Linked DNA regions of Homo sapiens: regions 2 and 3 are each linked to region 1. Evidence: promoter capture Hi-C in 16 types of primary human blood cells and fetal thymus (Javierre and others, 2016). All regions are on one chromosome and are shown on one strand. Each heading gives the region's core, a stretch centred on a gene start or on the middle of the fragment in contact. The rest is flanking DNA. Distances are from core to core; before and after follow the strand shown. Region 1 holds the start of TMEM131L (transmembrane 131 like). Region 2 overlaps TMEM131L (transmembrane 131 like). Region 3 overlaps TMEM131L (transmembrane 131 like).

What was found. The method cuts DNA at HindIII sites, captures the fragments that hold promoters and counts their contacts. A CHiCAGO score of 5 or more calls a contact.
Region 2: a fragment that was not itself captured here is called in contact with the fragment with the promoter of TMEM131L in region 1 in 7 of 17 cell types (activated CD4 T cells, naive CD8 T cells, naive CD4 T cells and 4 more); the score reaches 11.9 in activated CD4 T cells.
Region 3: a fragment that was not itself captured here is called in contact with the fragment with the promoter of TMEM131L in region 1 in 10 of 17 cell types (activated CD4 T cells, naive CD4 T cells, total CD8 T cells and 7 more); the score reaches 15.8 in activated CD4 T cells.

Annotation. Positions count from the first base shown.
Region 1 is chr4:153,464,742-153,468,021 of GRCh38, reverse strand. It overlaps TMEM131L (transmembrane 131 like), which reads right to left and starts at 1,662. Exons shown (of 35, transcript NM_001131007.2): 1 at 1,501-1,662; 2 at 741-811. The coding sequence starts at 1,624. RefSeq lists enhancers at 1-31, 402-491, 1-651, 2,022-2,201 and silencers at 962-1,321, 1,692-1,791, 1,832-1,981. The HindIII fragment of the contact is 8,794 bases long and covers 112-3,280 here.
Region 2 is chr4:153,499,825-153,503,328 of GRCh38, reverse strand. All of the region lies in intron 3 of TMEM131L (transmembrane 131 like), which reads right to left. Among named protein-coding and RNA genes, the nearest start is that of TMEM131L, 35 kb to the right of the region's middle. The HindIII fragment of the contact is 983 bases long and covers 1,608-2,590 here.
Region 3 is chr4:153,516,578-153,519,575 of GRCh38, reverse strand. All of the region lies in intron 3 of TMEM131L (transmembrane 131 like), which reads right to left. Among named protein-coding and RNA genes, the nearest start is that of TMEM131L, 52 kb to the right of the region's middle. The HindIII fragment of the contact is 829 bases long and covers 1,094-1,922 here.

The DNA of each region.
Region 1 (3,280 bases), core at 413-2,912:
AAAAAATGCATTTTGGATCACTACCGTTACTGGTGAAAGGCAGTCAACAACATTATATTTAAATGTGCACACTTCACAGTCAATGGGAATTTCTTGTAAAAGTTAAAAGCTTTGCAGTACTGTATCTGTTGCAGCAATAAACCCTCTATGATGCTACAGATTCCCAATAAAACGTCAGTAATTATTTTTCTACACGCAATCATCATATCATCATACAGAGAAAAAAACCAGAAATTCAAGTTCTTAAGTGGGTGTATTTTAACAGGAATTAAGGGCACTTGGAGAAAATCCAAGATGACAATCCTTGAGAGTCACATCTCCATCCCAAAGCTACTTAACGCTAATGGCAAATACCACTCTAACATTTATGAAATCAATACTCCTGTTGTCCTCAACCTCTTAGCCACTTGCCATCCACACAGCACCAGCTCACTTAGGGAACAGTGTGCACCCAGGACACCCACGGCCGAACAGACCGCTGGCCGCTTCCCTGCTGAGGTGGCCTGGGTTCCCACCTTCTGAACTTGGGGCCGGCCTGCCTCAGGCCCTGTCACATGGCGTGGGAGGAGCCGGGAAGGCCACCGTTGCCAGGTGTTCAGGCTCGGCCCCTAACGTTTATTTGCCTTGCAAAGTGGCCCGAACGCCTGTGCCGCTTGGACAGGGGGTGGGGAGGACCGGGGGCCTCCCCGCCTCTCCTCCCTCGTACACCCACAGCCGCCCTGTCACCTGGTCGTCCTCACCTGAGTGGGCAGCAGGAGTTCCCCTTCTTCTGCCTGCCACAGCTCCACCACGTTCGGCAACGGCTCAATCGCTGCAGGAACACCAAAAAATACACCACGTTTTTAATGCACGCTAAAGAAACGCTTCCTGTTTCCCCTACCGTCCCTCCGTGCCCCCCGCCTCACCAAAACACGTCTCTTTTTCCTCCTGGGAACAGAGGCCATCCCAGGGGCGAGCCAAGGATAAAAATACAATGGGTGGGGTGTGAGCCGGCGGCCCCTCGGACGCGAAGGCGACAGCGTGCAGGCAGGCTCGGGGTGCTCGTGCTGGGGGTGGGGGGACGAAGTGGGAGTGAAGACACCCCACGAGGCACTCCGGGCTCCGCAGCCCGAGCATCTGGAGTGTGGACCCTGGGCGGCCAGGCTCGGGGGAACAAAGCTGCAGGAAGCCGGGCCGCTGCGGGGCACCCGCGCGCGCCACACAAAGCGGGGGCTGCGCCCGGGGCGCAGGGGCCCGCGCACAAAGGCTCCAGGGCGCGAGCGGCTAGCGGTCCCCAAGCCCCGCGACTGCCCCGCTCTCCAGCTGTACGGGGCAGAGAGGCGCGGGACGGGACGCTGTGGTCAGAAAATGTTATCAGCGGAGAATCGCAACAGCTTTCCTTCCTCCTCCTGCCCCTTTCCCTTTCCTCCCCTCGCCCTCTTATAGATTTCAGCAGTTCCCTAAAAGAAAGAGCGGGGGCGGGGTGGAGAGGCAGAGCGAGCCCAGCGGCGCAAGGCTGACCTTGTCCCTGAGCCCCTCCCGGGCGACAGCAGGGCAGCAGGACCTGGAAGACGCCCAGCAGGAGGTTCACGGCCGCCGCGGTGCGGCAGTAGCAGCCGGGCTGCGGGCGTCGGAGCCCCGCCATGCTGCTGCTCGCGCTCCTCTCCGTTGCTCGCCGCGCTCGCCGCTAGCTCGCTGGCGCCCCAGCTGCCTCGCCCCGGGCCCGCCCCCGTGCCGCCCCGCCCCGCCCCGCCCCGCCCCGCCCCGCCCCGCGCCGCACCACCCCCGCCGCTGCCGCAGCTGCTGCAGCTCCAGACCCGGGCGCGCCGCTTGCTCTGAGCGCGTGTGCGCCGCAGATAGGGAGGGACGGAACGCGGCGGGGTGCGGGGGAAAGTGGACAATGCGAACCCGCGGGTGCCCCGCCCCGGCGCGGAGCACATGGCCGCGGGCCCGCCCCGCAGCGCGCACTCTGCGGGGCCCGGGCGCTTTCCTCGGCTGGGACGGGGTCGCTTAGAGCTGTCCGCGGGGACTAGCGGCCCACTTTTGCCAAGTGCATTTTCATGAACTTTTGGGTGGTTGCCGCTTTGTCGAGGCGCTTGGGCCACGGTCGAGAGATTACCCTCGAGGGAAGAGGTGGCGGTGGAGGTGGGAACGAGGAGTCGCCAAGCGAGAGGCCTTGGACACAGGATATTAGTGGAAATAATGCAGTGGTTGTCAGGAAACGCGAGTGCAGCCACATGGCCACTGCCAGTTATGCAGCGAGGATATCCGGTGGCTGCAAAGTCTGTAATTTAGAATAAAAAGAGCTCTCCCAAAACCCGAGAGGCAGACCTCAGCGCCGCGTGGCGGTAGTGCGCCCGGCACCCTCTGTGGACACTGTCCAGGTCCTGACAGGTGGGGAAGACTCTTCCTAGGGGATTTATAGCTTCAAAGACCCTGCAAATACTCCCTTTTGGAATCATATTGCAAAATTCAGCCAGCCTCTCCTGAAATATGGTTGGGGTCGAGGATGTGGTTAGTTGCCTGTTTCTAACATTAGTAGGATAATGGAAGTAATACGTGGAAATACATTTCCTAGTTCCAGGTTTTGATGCCTATAACTAACAAGTCCAAAATCTGGCATCTCTTTAAGTTAACATCCTGCCTTTACCAGCGATGTCGCAAACAAGGGCTTATTCAGAAATCAATTTGCATAACCTAGAAGTATGGGCAATCTTATGATTTTTTAAAGTTAACTTACTGCTTCCACTGTAGCTTGTATGAAATTCAGAGAATATGAACAATATAGTATGAAGAGGGGAAGTGATGGGACACACCTGTTTACCTTAATCCTCTGTTTAATTGCTCCTTGTGCCTTACAAGCCAGACTATAGAAAACCAGTGCTTGCATAGCAGACACAATCCTGAGAAGGACAAAATGAAATCTAGATCCTCTTTCCTAAAGACGTAATACAGTACTGTGAACACAGTCTCACACACTGTCTGCATTTAACTCCAAACAAGGTTAAATAGTCTAATTGCTTGGCCAGACTTAACATTTAAGTAGATTAGCATAAACGTAAGTTGTTGATGTGAAAAAAAAAAAGGGACACTTTGCATTTTCCAACTTGAATACCTCCAGTAGTCTCTGTTTCATACTTTTTTCTGTATTCCTTGCCAACATCTTCCTTTATTTAGCAAGGATCTCCAGTGCCATCTCAATGTGCCCTTTTTTTCTCTTCACTTCTCCAAGTTTCTATTTGCCCCTTGGATTCTGAAGGTCCCCCACGCAGTTAAAGGGACCTCCAGTGACAGGAATATT
Region 2 (3,504 bases), core at 850-3,349, 35 kb before region 1:
ATTTTACAAGTGATGTTATGCTCCCAGAGAAAGGAGGAATAACCAAATCCCTGAAATGTTCCCCCGTATTCTAAAAATGAATAAAGGAAAAAGTGAATTAAATGAGAAAGTTATAGCAATGGAAAACATCACATGTGCATTTGCTAAGTGTTAAGGTTTTTGAGAAAGTTTCTAAGTGAGAAAACACTCTCCAAGTTAAGTGTGAGAAACTGAAATTATATCTTTGTTTTAATGTAGTTTATAGAGTTTAAGATTAGCCTTTAGGCATCTCTGAGTTCTTCTAACTAAAAATAAATCTCAAGTATTTGGGTCAATAGGAATAAACATGGTCAGGAAGAGTAGAGGAAAAAAAAAAGATGACCCTGCAAAATGAGACTTTGCAGTAATTGGCTTTCTAGAAATGTTACATCTAGGAAAAGGGTCATTGACCCCTAGTTATCTTCATAATAGAAGGTAATAATGTGAAAAACCTAAGACATAGATTTCTCAGGAGTGACAATCAAGAGTTATAGCACTTCCAGGGCAGAGAGATCAAGTAACAAGAAATTATAAACACCAAATGCTCTAAGCATCTTCTCATACTCAAAGCAATCTGCATGAATTATCTCCATCCCAAATAATGTATGACTAATACCAGTGTCATAAGATAGTTTCAATAATTTGCAATTTTCTTCTATACGCAGAAGTTTTTCAAAGTAATGTTAAACTGAACTTTTTCAGCAGAAGCCATTTCAATGCACATTCAGCCATTTGAAAAGCTTCTATGGTTTAATGATTAGTTTACACATAATTCATTTTTCAACCAACGCACAAGTTAATATATCAATGATCCTTCGTGTTAACTCCCAAAGAGTCAGAATAAATGATACCTTACAGAAGCCTAGGATTGAGTATACTAATAAGGTTCACTGTGACAAAGAGAATGCTAGCTGCCAAACCCAGTAGCTGTTTTCCTGTCCTCCTTAAGAAGACATTTTGAAACAGGCACATGGCTGCAGAAAAGACTCCTCTTCCCAGTCTACCACTTGCAGCTGAGATGCAACCATATGACTAAGTTCTGGAAATGAGATGTATATACAAGTTTGGGACAGCCGCGGTGGTTCACACCTGTAATCCCAGCACTTTGGGAGGACAAGGTGGGAGGACTGCTTGAGCCCAGGTGTTGGAGACCGGCCCGGGAAGCACGGTGAAAACTCATCTCTACAAAAAATTAGCCAGGCATGGTGGCGGGCACCTGTGGTCCCAGCTACTTGTGAGTCTGAGGTGGAAGGATCACTTGAGCCCTGAATGTTAAGGTTGCAGTGAGCCGTGATCATGCCACTGCACTCCAGCCTGGGTAACAGCAAGACTCTGTCTCCATTTAAAAAAAAAAAAAAAAAAAAAAACCCTTTGGGGGATACTTCCAGGAAGTGACCTGGAAAAGGTAGAGGGGAAATCCTACTCTAGCTCCTTCCTCCATCCTGGAGGGGAAATGAAGATGATCCTGCGGGTTGGGCAGTCACCTTGGATTAGGAGACAGAGGAGGCATGGCCTTGATGATTATGAAGCTGTCACCTCAGTCCTGGCCTGCCCTCTGCTCTCTCAGATAAGCAGTATAGAGGAAAGCTTCTATCTCATTTATGTTACTGGGTTTTCTGTCTCATGAAACTGGTCCTAATCCTAACTGATATGCTTCTTCACCACCATAGCAGTGACAGTGATGATGGTAAGAAAAGTGATGGCAAGAAGTAATACAACACCTGCACACATACCCTGAGACTCCTTACCATGTGCCAGAAAATACAGTAGAGGCTTTACTCACATTATTTACATTAATACTTGCAAAACTCAGCTGGGCACAGTGGCCCATACCTGTAATCCCAGCACTTTGGGAGGCCGAGGCAGGCGGATCATGAGGTCAAGCGATCGAGACCATCCTGGCTAACACGGTGAAACCCTGTCTCTCCTAAAAATACAAAAAATTAGCCGGGTGTGGTGGCACGCGCCTGTAGTCCCAGCTACTCAGGAGGCTGAGGCAGAATTGCTTGAACCCGAGGCAGAGGTTGCAGTGAGCCAAGATCGCGCCACTGCACTCCAGCCTGGGTGACAGAGCGAGACTCCGTCTCAAAAAAAAAAAAAAAAAAAAACTTGCAAAACCCCTGTGAGGTGGGCATTATAAGTCCCACTTCTTTAGTTAAGCATCCAGTATGGTCATTATTCTTGCTATTCTAAAATTTCACAATATGCTTGGTGGGATTCTCTAAATCCACTGTGCAGGGTACTTGGCGTACCCTGTTAATCTTCCACTTTCATCAGTTACCATATTCTATCAGTTATCCACTTTCTATCTTCCAGAATTTTTTTTTAACTCTATTATCAACTGATAGCATTTCTTCACTATAGGTTTTTATTAACCTTTTAAATTTCTATCTGATCATTAAACGGCGTCTCTGGAGAAAGAGGAGACTAAGCCATGTAGTCATTCCATCGATTTTCACAACTAGGAAAAAAGTGCACATGCCTGTGTGTGTGTGCATGCACGCGTGTGTGAGCGTGTGTGTTTCTTTGGTCTCAATAGGCTAAGATAGTTCTAAATCATCCAGATAAAGCTTAACAAGGCCAAATGTAAATATTTGTATTTTAAAGAAGGCAATTCATTACTTAAGTGTATATTGAGAAAGAGAAGTTAGCAGTTCCCATTAAAATAAAAAGAAGATGACGGACCCAAAGGTTTTTGTTTGTGTTTGATCTTGTTTGGCCATAAAATAACACGATCCAAGTAGAAAGACACTGCTACTAGAAGTGCTAATGAAATCTTGGGCTTCATTAAAATAAGTAGAGTCCAGACCAAAAAAGAAATGGATTCACTACATAGGGCACCATTCAGATCTCAACAGAATCACTCTATCCACTATTGGCAAAATTTAAACTAAAAAAGTTCTGGGATGGGTGTGGTGGCTCACGCCTGTAATCCCAGCACTTTGGGAGGCTGAGGCTGGAGGATTACTCGAGCCCAAGGAGTTCAAGATCAGCCTGGGCAACATAAAGAAACCCTGTCTCTACAAAGGAATATATAAAAATTAGCTGGGGGTGGGGAGGCATAAGCCTGTGGTCCTAGCTATATGGGAGGCTGAGGCAGGATGACTGCTTGAGCCCAGGAGTTTGAGGCTGCAGTGAGCCATGATTGTACCATTGCACTCCAGCCTGGGTAAGAGAGTGAGACCCTATCTACTCTTGCAAAAAGAAAGAAGGGAGGGAGGGATGGGACAGAGGGAAGGGAACGGAAGGGAACGGAAGGGAGGAAGGGAGGAAGGAAGGTTGGTTCTGACCAAGTTAACATTAGGACTGACTGAAAAACATGAGGAATAATTTAGCCTGGGCGAGTTAAAAAAAAAAATTTAGGTAAAACCAACCTAGAGAAGAGATGTGATAACTGTCTCAAGTCTGTGAGACTGGGATCTGACGGTGGAAGACTAAAGAGAGCAAATGTGAAGTCAAAATCAGAGAACATCTTTACAATGAGAG
Region 3 (2,998 bases), core at 259-2,758, 52 kb before region 1:
GTCATTCTCCACATTCTATATGTGATGGCAAATAGAGTCAGACAGGTAAGAATGTGCAAACTACTGTAGCAGCTCAAAGCATCTCCATCCCTTTATCCCAGCTCTTCCCCTAACACACTTATGGTGTTAATGTCACCTAAAGTTTGAGTAACACTTCTTCACAAAATCTGTAGCAAGAAAGTGAAAGATTCGTCCATCTGGATTTGGGTATAAAGTCTTCAACTTCAAAAACAACTACTATGCCACTAAATAATTTTCAGCAGTTTCCATGAAAAGCTTGGCCCCAAGCTGCAACACAGAAAGATAATATTTACACATGACATCAGAACAACTGCTGAAATTCCAGAGAACTTTCCCTACCAAATCTCTAAGTAAAGAACAGAAAGTACCCCACACAGCCTACACCCCCTAGCTCACCAGCAGGTCTACAATGCTCATAAGACTTCTCATGTCCCCTAAGGCTGTTTGGTCTTATCACCAATTTGACAAATCCTTTACATGTGGAATTTTCCCCCCAGGAAGGTGGGGAGAAAAAGTATTACACATAAAGACTACAAACTGATCACAGCAAATGTAAGAATGGTGGTCAAAAGTTTAAGATACAGCAAGGAAACCCCAGGTTAAGGTCTCTTGATGTCTTCACCACCCCACCGACTAGAATTCTTATCAATGCCTGCACTGACATGGAGTAAACAGAAAAGGGCAGGCACCGTTAGGATAGAACCAGGAAATCAGCACGTGTCCCCCGGAGTCACAAGTGCAATGAAAGGGCTGAAAGTCAGTTTCGATATCACCGAAGGAGAAAACAGAGCCTGAGCACCAAGTCGGGCTATTGATTTTTACAGTAAACTCGTACCAACATATACGAGAGCCTATCATTATTTCTGAAACTGTCACACATGATTTCAGTCAATAGGAAATTTCTCAGTAATTGGCCTGATGTTCCCATCGCTTCTATGATGCTTAAGAGTATCACTATTCTATATCCCTTCCCTGTAGCACCAAACACATCACACTTGTTACGTACATTTTTCTCTCCAGTGATTTTGTGCTGAGACCAAAAAATTGAATGTATTCACTATGTTTTCAAGCTTTTCTATTCCATTAACAGTTTCTCAAGTATGATGTCTGCATCTTATTTTCATAGGCCTCAATACTAGGTTCAGCCTCTTCTGATTCTTTTTTCTCTCTGGACCTGCTCTCGTGTGTTCCCTTCTACCCCTGGTGGACACAGCTTTCTATTATAGCAAAAACACTGTCTTTCGAAATGCGCAGCAGCATCCCACAAGAAGTGCTCGGGAAATGAGGAGGAGTTTTTAATGTGCAAGTGTTCAGTCCTACAATCACAGTGCACAGCATGCTTGGTTCCAAGGACTGTGTGAGAACGCAAGCACCTGCTGACTGACCTCGGCCTCAATTCTAAACAGGAACCTGGCTGGAATCAAGCCCGGCATGTTCACTCCCATTGTCAGGTCTCAGCTCTCACTAAAAGCAAGTTGGAAATTTTCTGTCTGTTCAACAAAAAGGTTACTGTTTTTTTTTTCACCCCATTATAAAACACACACTCATCGTAAGTTCAAGGAATAAAGAAAACTAGTAAATATATCACCCACCACTCAAATTGGGCAAATTTTCAAGCCAAAAAAACAGGGTCCAAAAGATTCTTACTCAGTCTAAAGGCTTTAAACAAGGTGAACCAAAGAGTTAGGAGAGAGGCTATTTGGGTGCCTACTACCACCATTGGGTTATCCAGAAAATCAAGTGTGTACTAAAATAGGTATTTCATCTTGTTAATAAGGTTTGGGAACACATGACTGCATATACACAGACACTGCACACAAGATTAATCATAACCATTTTCCAAGAGTCTTTCTTTCACTGCTACCATAGTTTTCAGGAGCCCACTCACTGGTAACCAAGCTTCCTTGAACAAAAGGCTCCTGACCTAAACATTAAGAGCGCTAAGGAGCAATATACTCAGTGGGTTCCATTCAATTCAGCATTACATTCGACACCTAATGTCCCAGGCAGGGCAGATCCAGGTTTTATGGAGCTCTGAAACTTATGTGAGAGGGCAAAGTGGAGTATTTTAAAGGAAAAAAAAATACACACTATATATTACTTCTGAAGACTTAATAAAAAACACAGTCATGTAAAAACATTCCTAGGAACCCGCCCAGGGCCTTGTAAAGGACCCGTGCAAGGGAGGATGAGAGAACATGTCTGTGCCTGTGCAGTTGAGGGAAGAGGTGGGAAATGCTTCCTAGATTAAGGGATGTCCCAGCAGAGGTCTGGAGGCGGCACAGGAAGTGATCTCCAGGCATAGCAAATAAGTCCAATGGTGGAAACAAAGGAAACTTCAACCAACTTCATCTTCATAAGTACATGCAAACTAAAAGAAGTATATAATACCAATTTGGACCTCTTAGATTAAAATTTAAAAGATGAGCTGGCCAGGCGTGGTGGCTCACGCCTGTAATCCCAGCACTCCGGGAGGCCGAGGTGGGTGGATCATGAGGTCAGGAGTTTGAGACCAGCCTGGCCAACACGGTGAAACCCCATCTCTACTAAAAATACAAAAATTAGCCAGGCATGGTGGCGCGCACCTGTAATCCCAGCTACTCAGGAGCCTGAGGCAGGAGAATCGTTGGAACCCGGGATGCGGAGGTTGCAGTGAGCCAAGATCGCCCCCACTGCACTCCAGCCTAAGTGACGGAGCAAGACTCCGTCTCAAAAGAATAATAATAATAAATAAATAAAATTTAAAAGATGAACAAAAAGTACTGGTACCTAGTGCTGGGAGGCTCGTAAGAAACTGACAATCTCAAGACATTAGCATAAGGGTATAACTGAAACAACCTTTCTGGAGGGCAAGTACAGAATATTTTTCAAAGGCCTTGAAGCATGCCCACTTTTTGACCCAGCAATTCCAGTTCTAGTAATGTATCCTAAAGAAATGATTGCACAAGCATTCAAATGTAGATATAGCCTGGTGGGG